3 separate regions of the Homo sapiens genome follow, and all the other regions are linked to region 2. The links are contacts of gene promoters, found by promoter capture Hi-C in human tissues and cell types (Jung and others, 2019). All regions are on one chromosome and are shown on one strand. Each heading gives the region's core, a stretch centred on a gene start or on the middle of the fragment in contact. The rest is flanking DNA. Distances are from core to core; before and after follow the strand shown. Region 1 overlaps FBXW4 (F-box and WD repeat domain containing 4). Region 2 holds the start of NPM3 (nucleophosmin/nucleoplasmin 3). Region 3 overlaps FBXW4 (F-box and WD repeat domain containing 4).

What was found. The method cuts DNA at HindIII sites, captures the fragments that hold promoters and counts their contacts. A contact is called where the count stands out against the background at its distance.
Region 1: a contact is called between a fragment that was not itself captured here and the fragment with the promoter of NPM3 in region 2, in 3 of the 25 tissues and cell types used here (mesenchymal stem cells, mesendoderm cells and thymus).
Region 3: a contact is called between a fragment that was not itself captured here and the fragment with the promoter of NPM3 in region 2, in 3 of the 25 tissues and cell types used here (H1 embryonic stem cells, lymphoblastoid cells and neural progenitor cells).

What each region holds. Positions count from the first base shown.
Region 1 is chr10:101,638,270-101,641,198 of GRCh38, reverse strand. The region is part of intron 5 of FBXW4 (F-box and WD repeat domain containing 4); the gene reads left to right. Among named protein-coding and RNA genes, the nearest start is that of MIR3158-2, 38 kb to the right of the region's middle. The HindIII fragment of the contact is 6,712 bases long and covers 1-2,929 here.
Region 2 is chr10:101,781,773-101,784,723 of GRCh38, reverse strand. NPM3 (nucleophosmin/nucleoplasmin 3) reads left to right here and starts at 1,278. Exons shown (of 6, transcript NM_006993.3): 1 at 1,278-1,451; 2 at 1,800-1,885; 3 at 2,127-2,246; 4 at 2,373-2,466; 5 at 2,870-2,951. The coding sequence starts at 1,334. It overlaps OGA (O-GlcNAcase), which reads left to right. Exons shown (of 16, transcript NM_012215.5): 16 at 1-274. RefSeq lists an enhancer at 1,711-2,350. The HindIII fragment of the contact is 4,177 bases long and covers 241-2,951 here.
Region 3 is chr10:101,619,512-101,622,684 of GRCh38, reverse strand. The region is part of intron 6 of FBXW4 (F-box and WD repeat domain containing 4); the gene reads left to right. Among named protein-coding and RNA genes, the nearest start is that of MIR3158-2, 20 kb to the right of the region's middle. RefSeq lists an enhancer at 2,744-3,173. The HindIII fragment of the contact is 4,149 bases long and covers 1-3,173 here.

The DNA of each region.
Region 1 (2,929 bases), core at 98-2,597, 140 kb after region 2:
TGGAAAATATATTTAAATTATCTATCTCTTAAATGCCTGGCATTATGGTTGTTGAAAATGGAAGGGTTGGCTGGGCGCGGTGGCTCATGCCTGTAATCCCAGCACTTTGGGAGGCCGAGGTGGGTGGATCACCTGAGGTCAGGAGTTCGACACCAGCCTGGCCAACATGGTGAAACCCCATCTCTACTAAAAATACAAAAATTAGCTGGGTGTGGTGGCGGGTGCCAGTAATCCCAGCTACTCGGGAGGCTGAGGCAGAAGAATTGCTTGAACCTGGGAGGTGGAGGTTGCAGTGAGCCAAGATCACACCATTGTACTCCAGCCTGAGCGACAGAGTGAGACTTGGTCTCAAAAAAGGCGGGGGTGGGGGAAGGAAGAGTCTAGGTTGGGCAGGGTGGCTCATACCTGTAATCCCAACACTTTGGGAGGCCGAGGCAGGTGGATCACTTGAGGCCAGGAGCGTGAGACCAGCCAGGAGTTTGAGACCATTTGAGACCAATACAGCAAAACCCAATCTCTACTTAAAAAAAAAAAAAAAAATTAGCTGGGGATGGTAGCACATGCCTGTAATCCCATCTATTTGGGAGGCTAAGACACAAGAATCGCTTGAACCCAGGAAGCAGAGGTTGCAGTGAGCCAAGATCATGCCACTGCACTCCAGCCTGGGCAACAGAGTGAGACTCTCTCTCTCAAAAAAAAAAAAAAAAAAAAAAAGAGAAAGAAAGAAAGAAAAGAAAAGAAAATGGAAGGGTTTGAGAGTAAACCAAACTCTGCCCCATTAGAATGAGTCATGTGGTTTCCAGTAGAACATTCAGTCTCATCAGTCCATAAAAAGGGATTCAAGGGACCAAATCTCTGAAGATCAGGGCCTTGTCCCTTGAAGACTAGACTCCCATCCCTCAAGCAGCATCCTTGTTATTTTCTGTTGTCCAGACCATCTCCTCACCCCCTACTGGGAGTGGGCAGGTAGATTTTTCCTGGCACTGTTCTTAGGCATTGGTATAAGAGAACACCTCATCTCCTTTCTGAAGTTCCAGGCCAGCCTGTGTGGTTCTGTTTCATCTGCTCTCCTAGAAGACCTACCAGGTATTAATTTTGTGGTTGAAGTATCTTCTTAGGCCCCAAGGTGTCCAGTAGAGGCCTGGCAAAGCCCTTTGCTCATCTCTCAGTGAGGACATTCAGTTGGGTGAGAAGCCGAGCAGTTACTGAACAGAGGCTCTATATTACTCAGGACACATTTATTGTAAGTGACAGAAACCAAATTCAAATTCACATAAATAAAACAGAATATTTGGCTCATGAAATCCAAGGGAAAAGGTGAAAAACCAAGCCAAAGGCAGAACTGAAATACACCCTTGGGACTAGCTGAACCAGAGGCCATAGTGCTGCCATGGCTTTATCCTTCTGGGGTGCTCATCTCTTTCTTTATGGTTCTTAGCTCCTTCCTTTCTCCAAGCTGACCAGCTTATTCCATGAGGCTGCCAAGTGCTCCTGAGTTTGGCAGCTCATGGCTTAAATCAGAGAGAGTGACTGGCTTCCAAAAATCCCAGGCCAGTTTTGGGTCAGCTGCGCATCTCTTGATTAATTAACTGTGGCCAGGGAGGGAAAGTCATGTAAGAACATGGTGGATCTCTCAGGAATCACATATATGGAGGGAGAATGTGGGCACACAGAACAATAGGTGTCTACTAGTTGGATAAAGGCCAAATGACTCCATGATGTCCAGTCCCAAAGTGTCTATGTGAATGGTGACTGAGCTCAGAGACCTTGGCTACCAACTCTTAAACAAAGTGAAGAGTCTGATAGGAACTGTTGTACAGCCTTTGACCTCCTCCCCCTCACATTATTACTAGTCAGCAAATAAGGATTCCTCCTTTGTAAGCTGTTGATGGTGTCCTTAGCAAAACCCGCCATATTCTAATGTGACATGCACAGAGAAAGAACCTGGTTGCAGACACCTGAGGTTGTATGAATGAGCAGTGGCCTAGCACCCTCCCTGAGGGGCAGAGAGAGACTGGAACCAAGTCCTGGGATGGCACAGGTCTGGCCTGCCCAGGCTTCCTCCAAAGGAAAATGATTAGCAAGCTGCATGATTTGGGATTAAACTGCAGGGAGTTGACACGTGCACCAGGGCTTGCTGCTGGCACTCCTCTACAAATGGAGCACTCCTTTCTTGTGAGGGATAGGCTTTACCTATTGTGTACATAGATACAGTAGCTCTTATTGTCATGGATCCTACTTCTGTAGTCCTACTGTGTATAATTCATGACGCATAGCATCTCTTTACAAACAGAGTGGTTATGAAGCAGAAGTTTGGGGGAAAGCACTGTCAGAGCTGCCGGAAAACTGGAATTCTCATAGGCAGCTGTTCCCAGGCTTTCACCACTCAGAAAGCCATCGAGGTAAAGGGTCTCTGTCAAGTCCCGGATGGAGCCAAGATATCATGTGGTTTGTGCAATAATCAGAATCACATTTAATTCAGTGTGCTACTAATATGCAACACATCTTTCAGGTAACTTCAAAATGAGTATTTTGATTACCATTCTTTTAATTTCTTAATTTCTGTTTTGTTGTTTTATACATAAGTGATACATAAATATGTTCTAATTGTAAAAATTCAAACAATTTAAAATATATAGAATAGAAAGGAAAAATCTCCTTCAGTGACCTGTGTCCCCTCCCGTTATCCTACTCTTTTTTTTTTTTTTTTGCAGGACATCCAGTATGTGTCATTCCAGATCTTTTCATTTGAAGCAAATAGCAGATATCATATAGTTTCATCAATATGTGTACATATATAGATATATGGTTCTGCTTTGTTTTAGGCTCACATTATACATTTGTTCTGCAGCTTGAATTTCTCATCTCCCTACGAGGCTTGGAGGTCCTTTCATGTCAGAGCACCCCATCCTACCATGTTCTTTTTGAC
Region 2 (2,951 bases), core at 29-2,528:
ACCTCATGGAATTCAGGATTTTTTAGCAAGTTTGCTTTTGGTTTTATCTTGGCTTTTAGTAATCATGTTGGCTGGTCTGGTCACAGGTGACTGTGAAACAGATGCCCTGGTCTTGCTTTCATCACTCTAGGATCATGAAGTGCTATGCTATTTCCTGGTTATGAATATTAAGGTTGGAATTACATTTTTATTGATTGTTTGGATCAGAGCTCAGTTCCTGTAGAAAACGAACTGTAAAAGACCATGCAAGAGGCAAAATAAAACTTGAAGTGAATGCTTGTCGTGTTGTATTGTGTGAATCTATTTCCTGTCTGCCCCCTCCCTTTTCTCCTCTTTCATGCCTCACCTACAAGCAGGTATTCTCTCCTCTCCACAGCTGTTCCAAGTTAGAGATTGGATCTTGAAGGCAGCCCTCCCCTACCTCCATCACCAGTAAGACTTCCAGATTTTCATTAAGACAAGAGCTAAGAAAAGTAGACTAGTTTTTAGCCAAGCCACCCCACCCTCTTGCCACAGTTATAACCTGGATGTGAAATAGGGCCTCTAGTTTGAGTTTTGCCATCTATTAGGATAGAAAGCACACAGTTTGCCTGATTCTTAAAAGGCGAAAGATGGCGCGAGTAGCATAAACTGACAAAATAATCCACGGCGCAAAGATACTCCTGGATGATTTGGAATTAAAAGCTCAAAAAGCGTGGGTGGGCCAGGAACAGCCAACACACATGAGCTAACTAGTCCTCTGCTAGCAAGTGCCAGCAGCTAAGTCTCAGTGAAGGCATAGCAAGTTGCGGGGTCTTTAGAGCAGGAAGAATTAAGAGAGGCTTAGCCGAGAGGACAGACAGGACAGACGTGTTGGGATGGAAATTCCTAAGGCTCCTCGGCTCTCTTGAGGCAAAGACAATCTGAGTGCATTTCCTTTGCTTGTAGCAGAAAAGCACTGCCCTGAACCCCACCTTTGCTGGGAGGAGTAAGAAGGGTTTACATTTTTATATCTATAACTCCTTTAACGAAAGCTTACCCTGGGTTGGAAGAGTGGGAGACACTCTTCCGACACAGAGCGAGGAGCTTGGGGAAGTGGACACCCTCATGGTCGTGGAAATGAGCAAGGATGTTAACATAAACCCCAAATCCATTCTTCTGTGATGTTACTTCCTTTCTCTTCGGTCTTGATAAAATATGAGCAGAAGCTGCGGGCTCCGGGTAGGGCTGCGGGGTCTCGGCGCCTTTTCTTTTCCAGGACTGTGCGTCTCCTTTAATGGGCGGGGCCGGAACTGGCCGAGGGTCCCCGGCTTTGTGCGTGTCGGGGGCGGAGTTTGAAGAAGGCTCTTACAGCATGGCCGCCGGTACTGCAGCTGCCTTAGCGTTTTTGAGTCAGGAGAGCCGAACGCGGGCCGGGGGTGTCGGGGGCCTACGGGTCCCGGCCCCGGTCACTATGGACAGTTTTTTCTTCGGTATTAGTGAAGGGAGAGGCTGAGGGTGGTACTGGGGCGGTAAGAGGTAGGGATGTGAGGCGGGAATGCGGAGGGTTTCAAGGCGTGGGTGTGGGCGGAGGGCTGCTTCGCTGTTCCCGCAGGAGAGGGGGCCTCGCACGCACAGCCAAAGGGGGTGGCGAGATCCCTGCCCCAGATGTGTTGGGCGGGGCCCACGGCAGAGCGTCCCAGGTGTTCTGAGAGAAGAGACGGAGGTGGACGTGTAAATGACCCGTCCGCCCAAGGTTACACGTGACGGCGGGTTGGTGACATCCCCCGCTGCCCAGCCCCGTACACACGCTCAGGCATACTCACTGTTATTTCTACCAGGCTGTGAGCTCTCCGGCCACACCCGCTCCTTCACCTTTAAGGTAGAGGAAGAGGATGATGCGGAGCACGTGCTGGCACTAACCATGGTGAGGGGCAGGGGAGTGGGGTTTTAATGAATAAGCCCAGGCAGGCAATATAGGTCTCTACCCAACCTCCGGATCCCCTTTACTTGGAGACACATCCTCAGCCTAACCCCCCGGCATGGGCGGCTCCCCTGGCCAGGTGAACCGGGACCTCTGAGGCTGGGCAGGTGCTAGGGTAGATGCCTTTAGTTGTGGTGTCAACCCTCACTTGAGGAGACCCTGAGGCCCTGTGTACCGTTCCCAGCTCTGCCTCACCGAGGGAGCCAAAGACGAGTGTAATGTGGTAGAAGTTGTGGCCCGGAACCATGACCATCAGGAGATCGCAGTCCCTGTGGCCAACCTCAAGCTGTCCTGCCAACCCATGGTGAGTTCCCCAGCTCTGCCTTGGTGGTGGTGGTGGTGGTGGTGAGGGGATTGAGGACGTTAGCACTCATTACAGTGTGGGGTGGGCTAGGAGTGGGCCAGGCCTTCATCCTTGTCTTCCTCCCAGCTCAGTCTGGATGACTTCCAGCTCCAACCACCTGTAACCTTCCGCCTGAAGTCGGGCTCTGGCCCTGTGCGGATCACTGGGCGGCACCAGATTGGTGAGAAGAGGGGAGGGCCCTCTCCTTTGCTTCCAGTGGACTCTCCCATCAGGCTTCCCCCACTCCGCACTCCTGCCCCATCCCACCCTCATCTCCCAGTGCAGCCCTGTACAGGTCTGTGTGCCCTCCACGCTGTGCCCTGTGCATGACATGCCCTCTCCTTTCCGTCTACTCAAGCCTACCTCCTCCATGGAACATGGCCCAACTTCTCCAGCTCCAATAATGAAGACTCCTTTGGCTCTTTGTGACCCAGTTTAGGGTCTGAGGTTCTTCCCACCTAGCCCATAAGCACTGGGAGGTCATGGTCCCTGTAAGCCTAACACCACGGCGTGAAGAAATGGCATGCGGTGTGAAACGGTCTGGTCTTAACACCCCATCCTTCTACTGCTTGTGTGTCCACCAGTTACGATGAGCAATGATGTTTCTGAGGAGGAGAGCGAGGAAGAGGAAGAGGACAGTGATGAGGAAGAAGTTGAGCTGTGCCC
Region 3 (3,173 bases), core at 393-2,892, 160 kb after region 2:
GTGATCTCAGCTCACTGCAAGCTCTGCCTCCTGAGTTCACGCCATTCTCCTGCCTCAGACTCCCAAGTAGCTGGGACTACAGGTACCTGCCACCACACCTGGCTAATTTTTTGTATCTTTTAGTAGAGACAGGATTTCACTGTGTTAGCCAGGATGGTCTCGATCTCCTGACCTCGTGATCAGCCTGCCTCGGCCTCCCAAAGTGCTGGGATTACAGGCGTGAGCCACCGCACCCGGCTGCTTGTCTTTTTATCCTCTTAACAGGGTCTTTTGAAGAGCAAATGTTTAAAATTTTGATGGAATCTAAATTATTGACTTTTTCTTTTATTGACTGTGCCTTTGGTGTCAAGTCTAAGAACTCTTCACCTTGCCCTAGGCCCCACATGTGGTCTGTGTCTTAAATGCCACATTTGACAGCACTGGCGAAGATGCTCTTCTCACCTGCTTCCTCAGTTGCTGTAGCTTTGTCTTCTCCATTTTTCTCCATCTCTGTAGGAAAGCATTAGCCATAGCTTTTTTTTTTTTTTTTGAAAAATCCATTCTATAGTCAGTCTTTTCAAAATTTTTAAAACAACATGAGATGTTTTAATCAATGAATCATGGTTTTTTTCCTTCAACATTCTCTTTTGATAGTCATCCAAGAACAGGGATGGGAAACTCCCTACTTCCCCAAACAACCATTCCGTCTTTTGGTAGCTCTGTGAGTGAGAATGCCCACCCTTTATCATGGATTGATTTGCTCCCTGAAGCTGTGATCCTAGACAAGAGACAAGCAAGTTGAACCTCTCTCCTGAAGAACAGACTTTTAAATATCTGAAAACCTTGGTTCTGCTCTTCCAGGGCCTCCTCTTCTTCAGGCCAAAAGTTCTAGGTCCTTCAGTTGTTTCTCATTAACATAGTAGATAAGTTAGCCATAACTTATCTGTGCCTCTTGCTGTGATCTGGGGCCCTCTGAGCTTCAGTTTCCTCATTTGTAAAGTGGAAATTAATTATCCCTACCTAACAGAACTGGTATGAACAAAATTATCGTGAAAGAGTTTCCCATACAGTGCCTGTCACCTTGGAGGCATTCAACTAATGCAAGCTGTCTCTTTCCTGCTCTTCCTTCCCACCCAAACTAGTACCTCGGAGTTTGTGGAAGCTTCTTTTTTTCTTGAGAGACAGGGACTTGCTCTGTCACCCAGGCTGGAGTGCAGTGGCATCATCACGGCTCACCGCAGCCTTGAACTCCTGGGCTCAAATGGTCCTTCTGCCTCAGCCTCCCAAGTAGTTAGGACTATAGACATGCCCCACCATGCTTGGCTAACTTTTAAATTTTTTTGTAGAGACAAGGTCTCGCTATGTTGCCCAGGCTGGTCTCGAACTCGTTGGCTCAAGTGATCCTCCCACCTTGGCCTCCCAAAGTTGTGGGATTATAGGTGTAAGCCATTGTGCCTGGCTTGTGGAGGCTTTTAATTCTTAAAATATCCGTGTCTTAGTGACTAGTGGAGGCGGAGGTGAACCTGCTGAACTCCTGGCACAGGGAAGGCTCTTGACAATGGGCTGTGGGTCACAAAGATGGGCATTCTGATGAAAGTTTTTACTTGGTTACATAGCTGGGCCTTGTGTTTGGCATCATCACCTGCCTGGGCCCAGGATGACACACAAGCCGGGTGGCGGGCTGGGTACACCACTGTGACCCAGCATCATCTCAAATGTTGGGTAATCTTTGAATGGCCTCTTCTGCCTATGGTTGCCTTGGTGAAGGGTACTCTTCGGTACAGATTTATGGTCAGGATGGAGTTCTAAGGCACCATTTATTTGACTGTTATTCTCTTATGAAACCCCTAGATCTCATTAACCCCAAACACTGGGTCTTTATTGAAACCAGAATGGACTCTAATGAGAATAGGTATGAGACAGTGATTAGCCAGGCATGGTGGCTCATGCCTGGAATCCGAGCACTTTGAGAGACTGAGGCAGTAGGATCGCTTGAGCTCAGGAGTTTGAGAGTAGCCTGGGCAATATGGTGAGACCTTGTTTCTTATCAAAAAAAAATTAAAAACAGAACAAAACAAACAACTATGGCCTCAGTTCTTCCTGGAGCCTGAGAAGAAACAGCCCTGCCCGCTCTGGCCAGCCTGTGGGCTCTGCTGCTTGTGGCAGGGTTGCCCTGGGCACCACTTGGCAGTGCCTTCTCTCCAGCCCCAGGTTCATCCACTGGGAGGAACCAGGCTTTGTTTAAACATCTGTCCTGTCCCCAGAGAAGCTTGGAGGACCAAGTGGTACAGCGATTGAGGAAAGATGCCCTGGTGGAGGCATTTGCTTTTGGTGGGAGGAAATGGATGGACAGGATGACTCTCTAGAGCTGTCTTTCCCAGAGAAGCCCAAGTAGATAATAAAGCCATGTAGAAAATAGGATTAAGGTAATGAACAGGCAGGACAAAGTTTGATCTTTCAGTAACACCAAAGCCTGACTGACAGGCCAATCCGAGAGGTGGAGCAGCATTGCCGGCAGGACTTGGGGTTGGGCGGTGAGCGGTGCTGGATGGATTCTTTGCTTTTAACCTGTCACTGCTGCAACTTGAGGAGCGCCTGGATTTTCTCTTTTATGTATGTGCTGGGGCTTGGGCAGAGAGCGGGGAGTACTGGAGGGGCAGTTTGCCCTAAGCATTGCTATACCCTGGATGATGGTGGGGGCTGGGACACATTCAAAGCTGTAGCCACCCACTGGGCACCAGCGCTCCCATCAGGGGAGCCATCACCCACGTCTATGTGTGTCTCTCAGCTACTCACCCTCAGACAGCCAATGCTGCTTCTCACAGAACCTGGACCCCTTTCAGGGTCACCATTGTTCCCTCAGCCCCTCATTCCATCAAGACCACTAGAGACTGTTCTCCTTGCAGGCTGGGCTGGAACAGGGATGGAGGGGCAGTTGCTAGCTGGAGCACACAGGTCAGAAGGCAGCCACAGGCACACAGCCGTTGCCTAAATGGCAAGGAGCTTGGCTGTCCCCTTCCCCCTTCCTCTTCTTTTTTTTTTTTTTTGAGACAGAGTCTTGCTCTATTACCCAGGGTGGAGTACAGTGGTGCTATCTCGGCTCACTGCAAACTCCGCCTCCCGGGTTCACGCCATCCTCCTGCCTCAGCCTCCCGAGTAGCTGGGACTACAGGTGCCTGCCACCGCGCCTGGCT